Regions from separate parts of the Homo sapiens genome. Here region 1 is linked to region 2. The links are contacts of gene promoters, found by promoter capture Hi-C in human tissues and cell types (Jung and others, 2019). All regions are on one chromosome and are shown on one strand. The core of a region is centred on a gene start or on the middle of the fragment in contact, and the rest is flanking DNA. Distances in the headings are between cores, read along the strand shown.

Region 1 (5,214 bases), core at 1,939-4,438, 38 kb before region 2:
TTTCCTGAGGAGTGTTTGTTTAGAAAATGGAACATGGACATCACCTCCTATTTGCAGAGGTAAGGAAATATTTGAATGGTTATTTCTTAGTGAAACTGCAGGGAAATGTGTATAGAAATCTGATTTGTCCAGCAATTAATATGCATACTACTTTATTTTTCCTTGGCTTTAAAATTTCTTTTAGCAGCTGTGTAATTTTCTTTTAATGTTATGGTTTGAGTTTTAAAAGCACATAGAACTCTTAGGTTCTGTGCTTGAAATGTTGCAAAATAGAAAGAGGTAATGAGGCACCCTAGTATTATATCCTTCTAAAACTTACACTTTTATAATAAAATATGATTTTTATACATCATAATAATTATTTCATTCATTCTACAAATATTTGCTAGAAGTCGAGAAGTACGCTAGTACACACAGATAAAACCAAGGAACTAAATAATTGAGTTGTTGGATGAGTTGACCACAAACTGTTCAGATTTGGACTTTTTTTTTTTTTAATACTTTAAGTTTTAGGGTACATGCACACAACATGCGGGTTTGTTACATATGTCTACATGTGCCATGTTGGTGTGCTGCACCCATTAACTCGTCATTTAACATTAGGTATATCTCCTAATGCTATCCCTCCGCCCTCCCCCCACCCCACAACAGTCCCCAGAGTGTGATGTTCCCCTTCCTGTGTCCATGTGTTCTCATCGTTCAATTCCCACCTGCCATTCAGGACTTAGGCATGGGCAAGGACTTCATGTCTAAAACACCAAAAGCAATGGCAACAAAAGACAAAATTGACAAATGGGATCTAATTAAACTAAAGAGCTTCTGCACAGCAAAAGAAACTACCATCAGAGTGAACAGGCAACCTACAGCATGGGGGAAATTTTTTGCAATGTACTCATCTGACAAAGGGCTAATATCCAGAATCTACAATGAACTCAAACAAATTTACAAGAAAAACAGATTTGGACTTTAATAACTGGTGAAGCAGGGAAGATTGAGGAAGTCAATGGATGAATGGCATGAGCCTCAAAAGAAACAGGGGCTATTGCAAGAGAAAGAGGACTCATTGTCTGGCAGCAACAATGAGAAGTGAGATCACCAATACATGGGATGTAAGAGAATGTAGAGCCTTTTGAGGGGGGACATCTTAAAGGAATATCCCAGACTTCACTTAAAGTCTAAAGTCAGAATGAGTGTTGTGTGTGTGATATTGAACAACATAAATGTCTGTTGACAGATAAATGGATAAAAAAATGTATGTTGATAGATGATGATGATGATGATTAAGAAGATAGATTAGATAGACATGCAGATAAAAATAGGCAGATACAATGAAATATTATTCAGCTTTGCAAAAGAAGAAAATCCTGCCATTTACAACAACATGGACTAACCTGGAGGACATCATGCTACATGAAATAAGCCAGACACAGAATGACATATACTGCCTGACTTTGCTGATAGGTGGAATCCAAAACAGTCAAACTCATAGAAGCAGAGAGTAGATGGTGGTTCCCAGGAGCTGGGAGGGGGTGAGGATAGGGAGATGTTGCTCAAGGTATCAAAGTTTCAGTTATGCAAGATGAATAAGTTCTGGAGTTCTAATGTCCAGCAATGTGACTGTAGTTAACAATACTGTATTGTATACTGAAAATTTGCTGAAAGGATAGATCTTGTGTTCTCACCACAAAAAAGAAAGAAAGAAAACAATAACTATGTGAGGGGATGAATGTGCTAATTAGCTCCATTGTGGTGATTATTTCACAATCTATACATAAATCAAAACATCAGGTTGTAAAAAATATATACAATTTTTATTTGTTGCACCTCAATAAAGCTACAGGGAAAACTGAAATAATAGCAGCCAATAAAATGCTGTACTTCTCCACATACTGAAATTCCCTCCTGAGATTCGATTTTTGTCTCTCTTCCTGAAAGCTTGACTCAAGGAAATAGTATGAGATATAAAGGGGCAATTCTATTTTCTGACTCCTTCCCTTCATAATTCCCTACATTTGTGACCCATCCTGCTTCTTTTCCAGCTGTCTGTCGATTTCCATGTCAGAATGGGGGCATCTGCCAACGCCCAAATGCTTGTTCCTGTCCAGAGGGCTGGATGGGGCGCCTCTGTGAAGAACGTGAGTTGCTCTTCAGATCTTACTTTGAGTCCTGACAAATTGCCTGGATGCTCCCACCTGAGGGGAGTTACCAGGAAATGGTTGTACTGTTGGGAAGAATTCATTTGCTGTAAGTCCTTGTCCACACCAAACAGAGCACATATGTGTCAACAGGTTGCAGAAGATCTAGAATATTAATGACTTTGAAAATACTGTTATTAAGATCCATCTAAAGTCATTTTCACATGTTCCCTGGCACAAATTTGCAAAAGTCTTCTTGAGAAGGAGCTTGTTGTAAAGTCTCCAAGCTATCCTCTTCCCTTAACTCAAGGTCTACTATGTGCTATGTCAGTCATTGCTGCAGTTGGTATAAACGTGCACCACTGCAAAACATGTACTTTGCAGGTAATATTTGCAGCTCACCATTTCCTCTTTGTTGTTAAGAATAGTTTCTACTCATTAAGAAAATAAGAAAAGCTGGCACTCCTATATCCATACTTGGTAAATTAATATAGAATTTTGATCCTTATAGAAACAATTTGAAATTCCAGGGAGGTATGGATAGTGATGTTAAATTTTTAAATATCTCAACTACACTTTATTTCAATATCTTAAAATATATATAAGGATAAAATGGTTTCATATTTCAACAGGAGCAGTGTATGTAAACCATTAAGAGTGATTCATGTGATGGCCATTGGTCTATACCAGTTTTTCCTACAGGGCAGGAATTTTATAAGAGACTAAAATGTTTTAAGTGTGACTTTTTCAACTAATCTATAAAGGAAAATGTATGATGGAAATAAATTTAGGCTGCTAACAACTCACCAAAACAAGTATTCTCAAATGATTAAAAAAGAAGAGAAATCACACTTTTCTCTTCCAGCTCACCCCAATCATTCCATTTCACCTAGAGCTCCCAGACTTAGCCTGCCCTTATGTCAAGAGTCCAAAGACTTAGTAAGCATTGACTTTGGGGTACCCCACGACAGGTCTGGCTTGGCTGCCTTAGCTGGTCTGGCTCACTGAGCATGTGCCTGCCCTCCTTCATTATACCAGTGCTTCCCAAGCTTTGCTATGCATACAGATCATCTGGGAGATCAGCAGATCTGAGTTGGTACCTGATATCTGCATTGCTAACCAACTCCTAGGTGATGCAAAGACTATTGGGGTTAGGGAACTTGATTTTGGGGAGCAAAGCAACAAACTCACATCTTTTAAACAGACTATGCCTCTTTAAAGATTTCAGTGATTTCTAGGAGGAGGAATGATAGTCATGAACAGGGTTCGGGAGGCATCATTCAGTCACCGTCAGTCCTCAGCTTCTCGGAAATAAAGGGTGTGTTGTCCCATTGCTACCAAAATGTTGCAAACTCCAACCCTATGTTACAGCCTATCTGATTCCCATTCTCACATTTAGTTCAAGACAGGAAGAGCCTCAAGGCAGCCAAATCCTCTTAGAACATTTTATGTAATTTGTAATGGAAATTTGAAACTATAATAAATGGAGACCGTTCTGCTTATTTTGTGAAGAGTTAAAGCAAAGCACTTTGCAGACACTGATTACGGAGTGTCTTCACTGAAAGTGGATTTGGCCTTAAAGTCATTACATGTGGCTAAGAATCCAGGCTTACTTTCCTGATTGTATTTTCCCAATGATACTCATTAATAAGCAGAACACATGCAGGAAACTTATTTAGTGAGTCATATAAGGTTTCACTCCTGCAAAATGTTTTCTGAACCCTTGAACCTATCTAAGATGTGTACTTTGATCAACGCCATTTCAATCCCCCCTGCCTCCTTTTTTTTTTTTTTTTTTTTTTTTTAGCAATCTGCATTCTTCCCTGTCTGAACGGAGGTCGCTGTGTGGCCCCTTACCAGTGTGACTGCCCGCCTGGCTGGACGGGGTCTCGCTGTCATACAGGTAGGCCTCTTTCATGGTTTGTTTTCTTGGTGGCTCAGGCCCATGAAACTCCAGAGGACATTGAAGAGTGTGACTTAGACTCAGAAGTGGTGGCAAAATGAAAAAGTACTGATGTTTCTCAAAAATTCCTCAAGATGATCCCTTGATTCGTGTCTCAACACTGAATTTTATGGTTGCCTAAACACGTTTCCAGGTCATGTGCCGAAGAATAGCATCTAAGTCTACTCAATTATCTGTCTTCTTTATGTCATCTGCTTCATTTTGCAGAGCATAGAGAAGACATTACACAGAGGTTCAGAATAATACTTATTTTAATCTCTAAGAAGCTAAATTACTAAATTCATGCTTACTCTTTAGAAAGAACAAGGTTATACATAAATACAATTTAAGTTAAAATGAAAAAAAAAACACTTTATCCAGTCTACCATTGATGAGCATTTAGGTTGATTCCGTGTCTTTGCTATTGTGCATAGTGCTGAAATGAACATACACGAGCATGTGTCTTTATGGTAGAATGATTTCTATTATCTTGGGTATATACCCAGTAATGGGATTGCTTGGGTTGAATGGTAGTTCTGTTTTTAGGTTTTTGAGGAATCGCCGTACTGCTTTCCTCAATGGTTGAACTAATTTACACTCTTACCAACAGTGTATAAGTGTTCCCTTTTCTCCACAACCTCCCCAGCATGTTTTTGTTTTGTTTTGTTTTGTTTTTTGAGAACAGAGTTTCACTCTTGTCACCCAGGCTGGACTGCAGTGGCGCAATCTTGACTCACTGAAACCTCTGCCTCCCAGGTTCAAGCAATTCTCCTGCCTCAGCCTCTGGAGTAGCTGGGATTACAGTCACCTGCTGCCATACCCTGCTAATTTTTCTATTTTTAGTAGAGACAGAGTTTCACCATGTTGGCCAGGCTGATCTTGAACTCCTGACCTCAAGTGATCCACCCACCTTGGCCTCCCAAAGTTTTGAGATTACAAGCATGAGCCACTGCATCCAGCCTATTTTTTTACTTTTTAGTAATAGCCCTGCAGCCATAAAAAAGAACGAGATCATGTTCTTTGTGGAATATGGATGGAGCTGGAGGCCATCATCCTTATAAAAGGAACAAAAAACCAAATACCACATGTTCTCACTTATAAGTGGGAGCTAAATGATGGGAACACGTAAACACGTAG
Region 2 (5,058 bases), core at 633-3,132:
ATTCCTCAGGGATCTAGAACTAGAAATACCATTTGACCCAGCAATCCCATTACTGGGTATATACCCAAAGGATTATAAATCATGCTGCTATAAAGACACATGCACATGTATGTTTATTGCGGCACTATTCACAATAGCAAAGACTTGGAACCAACCCAAATGTCCAACAATGATAGACTGGATTAAGAAAATGTGGCACATATACACCATGAAATACTATGCAGCCATAAAAAAGGATGAGTTCATGTCCTTTGTAGGGACATGGATGAAGCTGGAAAGCATCATTCTCAGCAAACTATCACGAGGACAAAAAACCAAACACCGCATGTTCTCACTCATAGGTGGGAATTGAACAATGAGAACACATGGACACAGGAAGGGGAACATCACACACCGGGGCCTGTTGTGGGGTGGGGGGAGGGAGGAGGGATAGCATTTGGAGATATACCTAATGTTAAATGACGAGTTACTGGGTGCAGCACACCAACATGGCACATGTATACATTTGTAACTAACCTGCACATTGTGCACATGTACCCTAAAACTTAAACTATAATAAAAAAAATTTTTTTGTTAATACGTGTATTAGTCTCTTTTCACGTTGCTGATAAAGACATACCCAAGTCTAGGTAATTTATAAAGAAAAAGAGGTTTAATAGATTCACAGTTCCATGTGGCTGGGGAGGCCTCACAATTCTGGCAGAAGGTGAAAGTCACGTCTTACATGGCAGCAGGCAAGAGAGAATGAGAGCCAAGCAAATGGGGAAACGTCTTATAAAACCATCAGATCTCATGAGATGTATTCACTACCATGAGAACAGTATGGAAGAACTGCCCCCATTATTCAATTATCTCCCACCGGTCCCTCCCACAACCCTTGGGAATTATGGGAGCTACAATTCAAGATGAGATTTGAGTGGGGACACAGCCAAACCATATCAATACATAATACTTCTACGTATTTATGGGGTACATGTGATATTTTGTTACATGCATACTTCAAATACCTCTACAGAGGCAGCCACTGTCTCCATCTGACAGTTTTCATGCAACACATGATTGAAGGCCCAGAGCTGCATATATAGAAAAACAGAAAGAAGGATTTTGCTATTTTTGTTTTATTATAGAATCTACTATTTCTCATTTTGGTTGTTCTTGTTGCTCTGTAGATTTGAAGAACATTGGCCATGGTCATGTTCAGAATTTTTCTGACATCAGTTCTGAAAATGGCAAATCATCAAGTGCAGGGGTCAGCAAACTGCTGCTGTTCTTTGTACATCCTACTAGCTGCGAATGGTTTTTACATTTTTTAAAGGTTGCAAAAACATAAGGAACATGCAACAAAGACTGTATGAGGCCCATAAAACTAAAATAGTATCTGTTCCCTTAGAGAAAACATTTGCCAACCCTTGATCTAGAGCATAAAAGTGACATTTCTTTACTCTCTAAATAATTAGAGCAAAATAACAAAGTTCAGGGAATTTATGACTCATGAAATCAAACTTACAGGAAACTCATTATTATAGGGTTAAGACTTTAGTATTTTTCTCAACAGCAAAATCTTCAAATTCTTAAGTGAAAATCTCATCTATTTAATATTACTCTGCTTACTTCTCATTTGGTGATGGGATGGAGGGATTAGAGAAGGGAGAAGGATATTTAGAAATAGGTTATAAAAGATGAAAATAAAGCAAACACATTACTGATTCTGCATATAAAGCCCTCAGTTTTCTGATTCTTGGCTGTCCACAAATGAACTAGTCATGGCATAAAAGTGAAATAGGATCCAAAGTCTGCCAAAGTTCCAGGTTCTGAGATGACATGTTTAATGATGTCATAGAGAAGTTATCCATGTATTCCAGGCAGGATACTGTAATAAATAGGAGACAGCTACAGTGATCCAACTAAACCAACAGGGGATTTTCATCAGCACTTCCCTGGTGTAATCATGGTACAGATTATTAAAGACACGGCAAGTATTTATTTGGCTTCACTGAGTATTTCAAATGTGGACATCTTGGGAACAGATTTGAAAAACTTTAAGAATGTGTTCTCTCTATCCAGTATTCTATCATTGCATTGTAGCAAGGGGAGAGTTCTAAATTCTTGTTCTTTATCTTGTTCCTTGAGGGATGGTACTATCAAGAAAAGCAGCCAAGGGTCAAATTGATAAAGAAGGGCTTTCTTCCTCCTGGACTTTTATTTCCTGCCTGACTTCAGGTGAATCCCAGACCAGCTCCTAGTACATCCCATCCTGTATCTGATCCCATGGATCGTACCTCAGTTGTGCTTGGAAAATTCCATGGAAGTAAGGAAGTCCACATCTTTTCTCTTATCCAAGGAAAAATAATAGAAACCCCAGATGTGGAATGGGGTGGGAAAATTGGGAACAGCCCAATGTTGCTGTCACAACAAATCTAAATTCATGTATAGGACAGAGATAATTCTTGATTTATAAAGGAGAAAATTGCCTCTAAAAGAGAGGTTCAGGGCTAGTTCGTTTAAGAGGTGGTGTGGGCATTAGAACCCAGACCTTCTGATGCCTGCCCTCATTACAAGAAGTCAAGAGCTGGAGGAGGGGAGGGGGTTTGGGGCCTGAGCCTCATGTCCACCAGCAGCCTCAGATTTAGACTTGTGACATTTTCCCCAAAGGTGGCTATACAGATCACAAAAATGACACTGACCAGATTGAAAGAGAGTACTGCCCTGTAACTTCGACATAAGAACATGTTTTGAAACATCACACATTTGCTAATGCTTTTGACACTTATTGTTTTAATATTCTGGGGATGTCACAGAATAGCCTGGAGCCTTATTCCCTCAGAAGACCTTTCATCTCCTCCCCAGGGACCTTTCCAGAGGCCCTGATCTCCATCCCATCTTTATTCAGATGCCACCTTCTCTTTGAGGTTGACCTTGGCCATCCAGACTACAGTTGTAATCCAACCCCCATTCTTCCTTCCTACTTCATTTTCTTTTTATTTTCTTTATTAGCAATTAGCACTAATATACTACAAATATTACCTATTGACCTTATAGTAAGCTTCCCATTCTAAAATGTAAACTCCATGGAGACAGAATGCCTAGTTTTTGTTTTGTTTTGTTTTGTTTTTGTCCACAGTGGTATCCTAGCAGTTTGTGCAGTAGCTGGCATAGTATAGGCCTCAATACGCATATGTTAAATAAATACCTATACTATGAGAGTATTCCCTTCAGATAGTTTAGTCAAGTCAAGTTCATGGGTCCAATTAGGCCAGCTCACACCCAAACAACAACTACTGGAAAGTGAAGAGTGTTGGGAGTTTGTGAGGATAGCATCTACCTTACAACTTCAGAAGCAAGTGAGAAATAAAGGCTTGGCAAGGTTCTCTGAAAAGTTAGTTACTCCCTCCCAGAGGAATATTGATAAAGAAAGAGAGTGCATCTTCTTTGAGTCATCACTTTCACCTGATTGAAACTAAACAAAGTAGCCACATAATTGTCAAGGCTATTATAGAGCAGGCATGTTGTATTAGTCTATTTGCATACTGCTATGAAGAAATGCCCAATACTTGGTAATTTATAAAGAAAAAAAGATCTAATGAACTCACGGTTCCACATGGCTGGGAAGACCTCACAATCATGGTGAAGGCGAAGGAGGGGCAAAGGCATGTCTGACATGGCGGCAGGCAAGACAGCGTGTGCAGGGGAACTGCCCTTTATAAAACCGTCAGATATTTTTAGACTGACTCACTGTCATGAGAACAGCATGGGAAAAACCCACCCCCATAATTCATTTACCTCCCACTAGGTCTCTCCCATGACATGTGGGGATTATGGGAGCTACAATTCAAGATGAGATTTGGGTGGGGACTCAGCCAAACTGTATCACATGTCATTTGTATGGATTAAACCCATCCATAGTGGGAATAGGCCTTGCTTGACTTAATACAATTAACAATCCCATCCCCCTCCTCTTAATGTTCGGTCCAGGAATAAGCACACAATGCAATTAGGGCCAATGAAAGGGAGAATAAGTCCTAATTCTATAATGAACTCAGGAGTGGATTTTCTGTAGTGGTTAAGGAAATAGGAACTGGAGTCAGGCTGCCTAGGATACCAATGCCAGCTACACCACTCACCAGCTAACTGATCATGATAAAGTTAGTGAACTTCACTTTTCTCATTTGTAAAATGGAGATAATAATAGTACACACGTTGTAGTGTTGTTGTAAAGATTATGGGAGAGAATATAGGGCACAGAGTAAATTAGCTACAATTGTTGCAATTCCAGTGAGAAAAGGAAAAGTCTTGAACAGAGTACTATGTATTAGCAAATCATTCATTCATCAAGAAGACACGCAGGCTGGGCGGGGTGGCTCACACCTGTAATCCCAGCACTTTGGGAGACTGAGGTGGGAGGATGGCTTGAGTCCGGGAGGCAGAGTCTGCAGTGAGCTGAGATCGCACCGCTACACCCCAGCCTGGATGAACAGCCAGACCCTGTCACCAAAAAATAAAATTAAATTAAAATAAAAATAAAGAAAACACTCTATGAGCACTTACTCTATGAGTACACTATGAGCACTTATGTGTCAGTTAGGGATCATGGGAGGTACAGGAATGAATCAAGATTAAATCCTGTAAGGACTTGGGGAGATCAATCATGCATGAAATAACTAGTGTAGGACCAGTCACTTGTCATAAAGCAAGCAAATATAGATGCAGTCATCTGAGTCCCAGGAAGGGAAACCTTTATTTACTTAGATGATACAAACAGTTGATGGGAAATTCACTTGACATTCAGCAATAAGCATGTCAAATCCTTAAATGTATAGTTTTAACTGTAGCTGTAATAATGATCACTTCCCCCCCAAAAAACAAGAAATTACTCAAGGTGTGAGATTAATTCTTCTCCTTTTAAAGTTCACTAGTCATGCATGTTTAGGCCCTTGTTTAATAAAAATCCAGTATTATAGATATCCACCCTGAACAGCAGTTCACCTCCACCCTCCAGCCCCCATCCCTCCCTGGCCAACCTGTTTCTCCTCAGAGGTAACCACCGTTATCAACTTCCAT

What was found. Contacts are between HindIII fragments. The study calls those that stand out against the background at their distance.
Region 1: a contact is called between a fragment that was not itself captured here and the fragment with the promoter of TXNDC8 in region 2, in 1 of the 25 tissues and cell types used here (aorta).

Annotation. Positions count from the first base shown.
Region 1 is chr9:110,374,192-110,379,405 of GRCh38, reverse strand. It overlaps SVEP1 (sushi, von Willebrand factor type A, EGF and pentraxin domain containing 1), which reads left to right. Exons shown (of 48, transcript NM_153366.4): 44 at 1-59; 45 at 2,040-2,135; 46 at 3,943-4,038. Among named protein-coding and RNA genes, the nearest start is that of TXNDC8, 39 kb to the right of the region's middle. RefSeq lists an enhancer at 1,819-1,988. The HindIII fragment of the contact is 4,580 bases long and covers 899-5,214 here.
Region 2 is chr9:110,334,687-110,339,744 of GRCh38, reverse strand. TXNDC8 (thioredoxin domain containing 8) reads left to right here and starts at 1,882. Exons shown (of 6, transcript NM_001424031.1): 1 at 1,882-1,972. The coding sequence starts at 1,949. It overlaps LOC124902245 (a long non-coding RNA gene), which reads right to left and starts at 3,541. Exons shown (of 2, transcript XR_007061728.1): 1 at 1,508-3,541; 2 at 1,103-1,220. The HindIII fragment of the contact is 11,230 bases long and covers 1-5,058 here.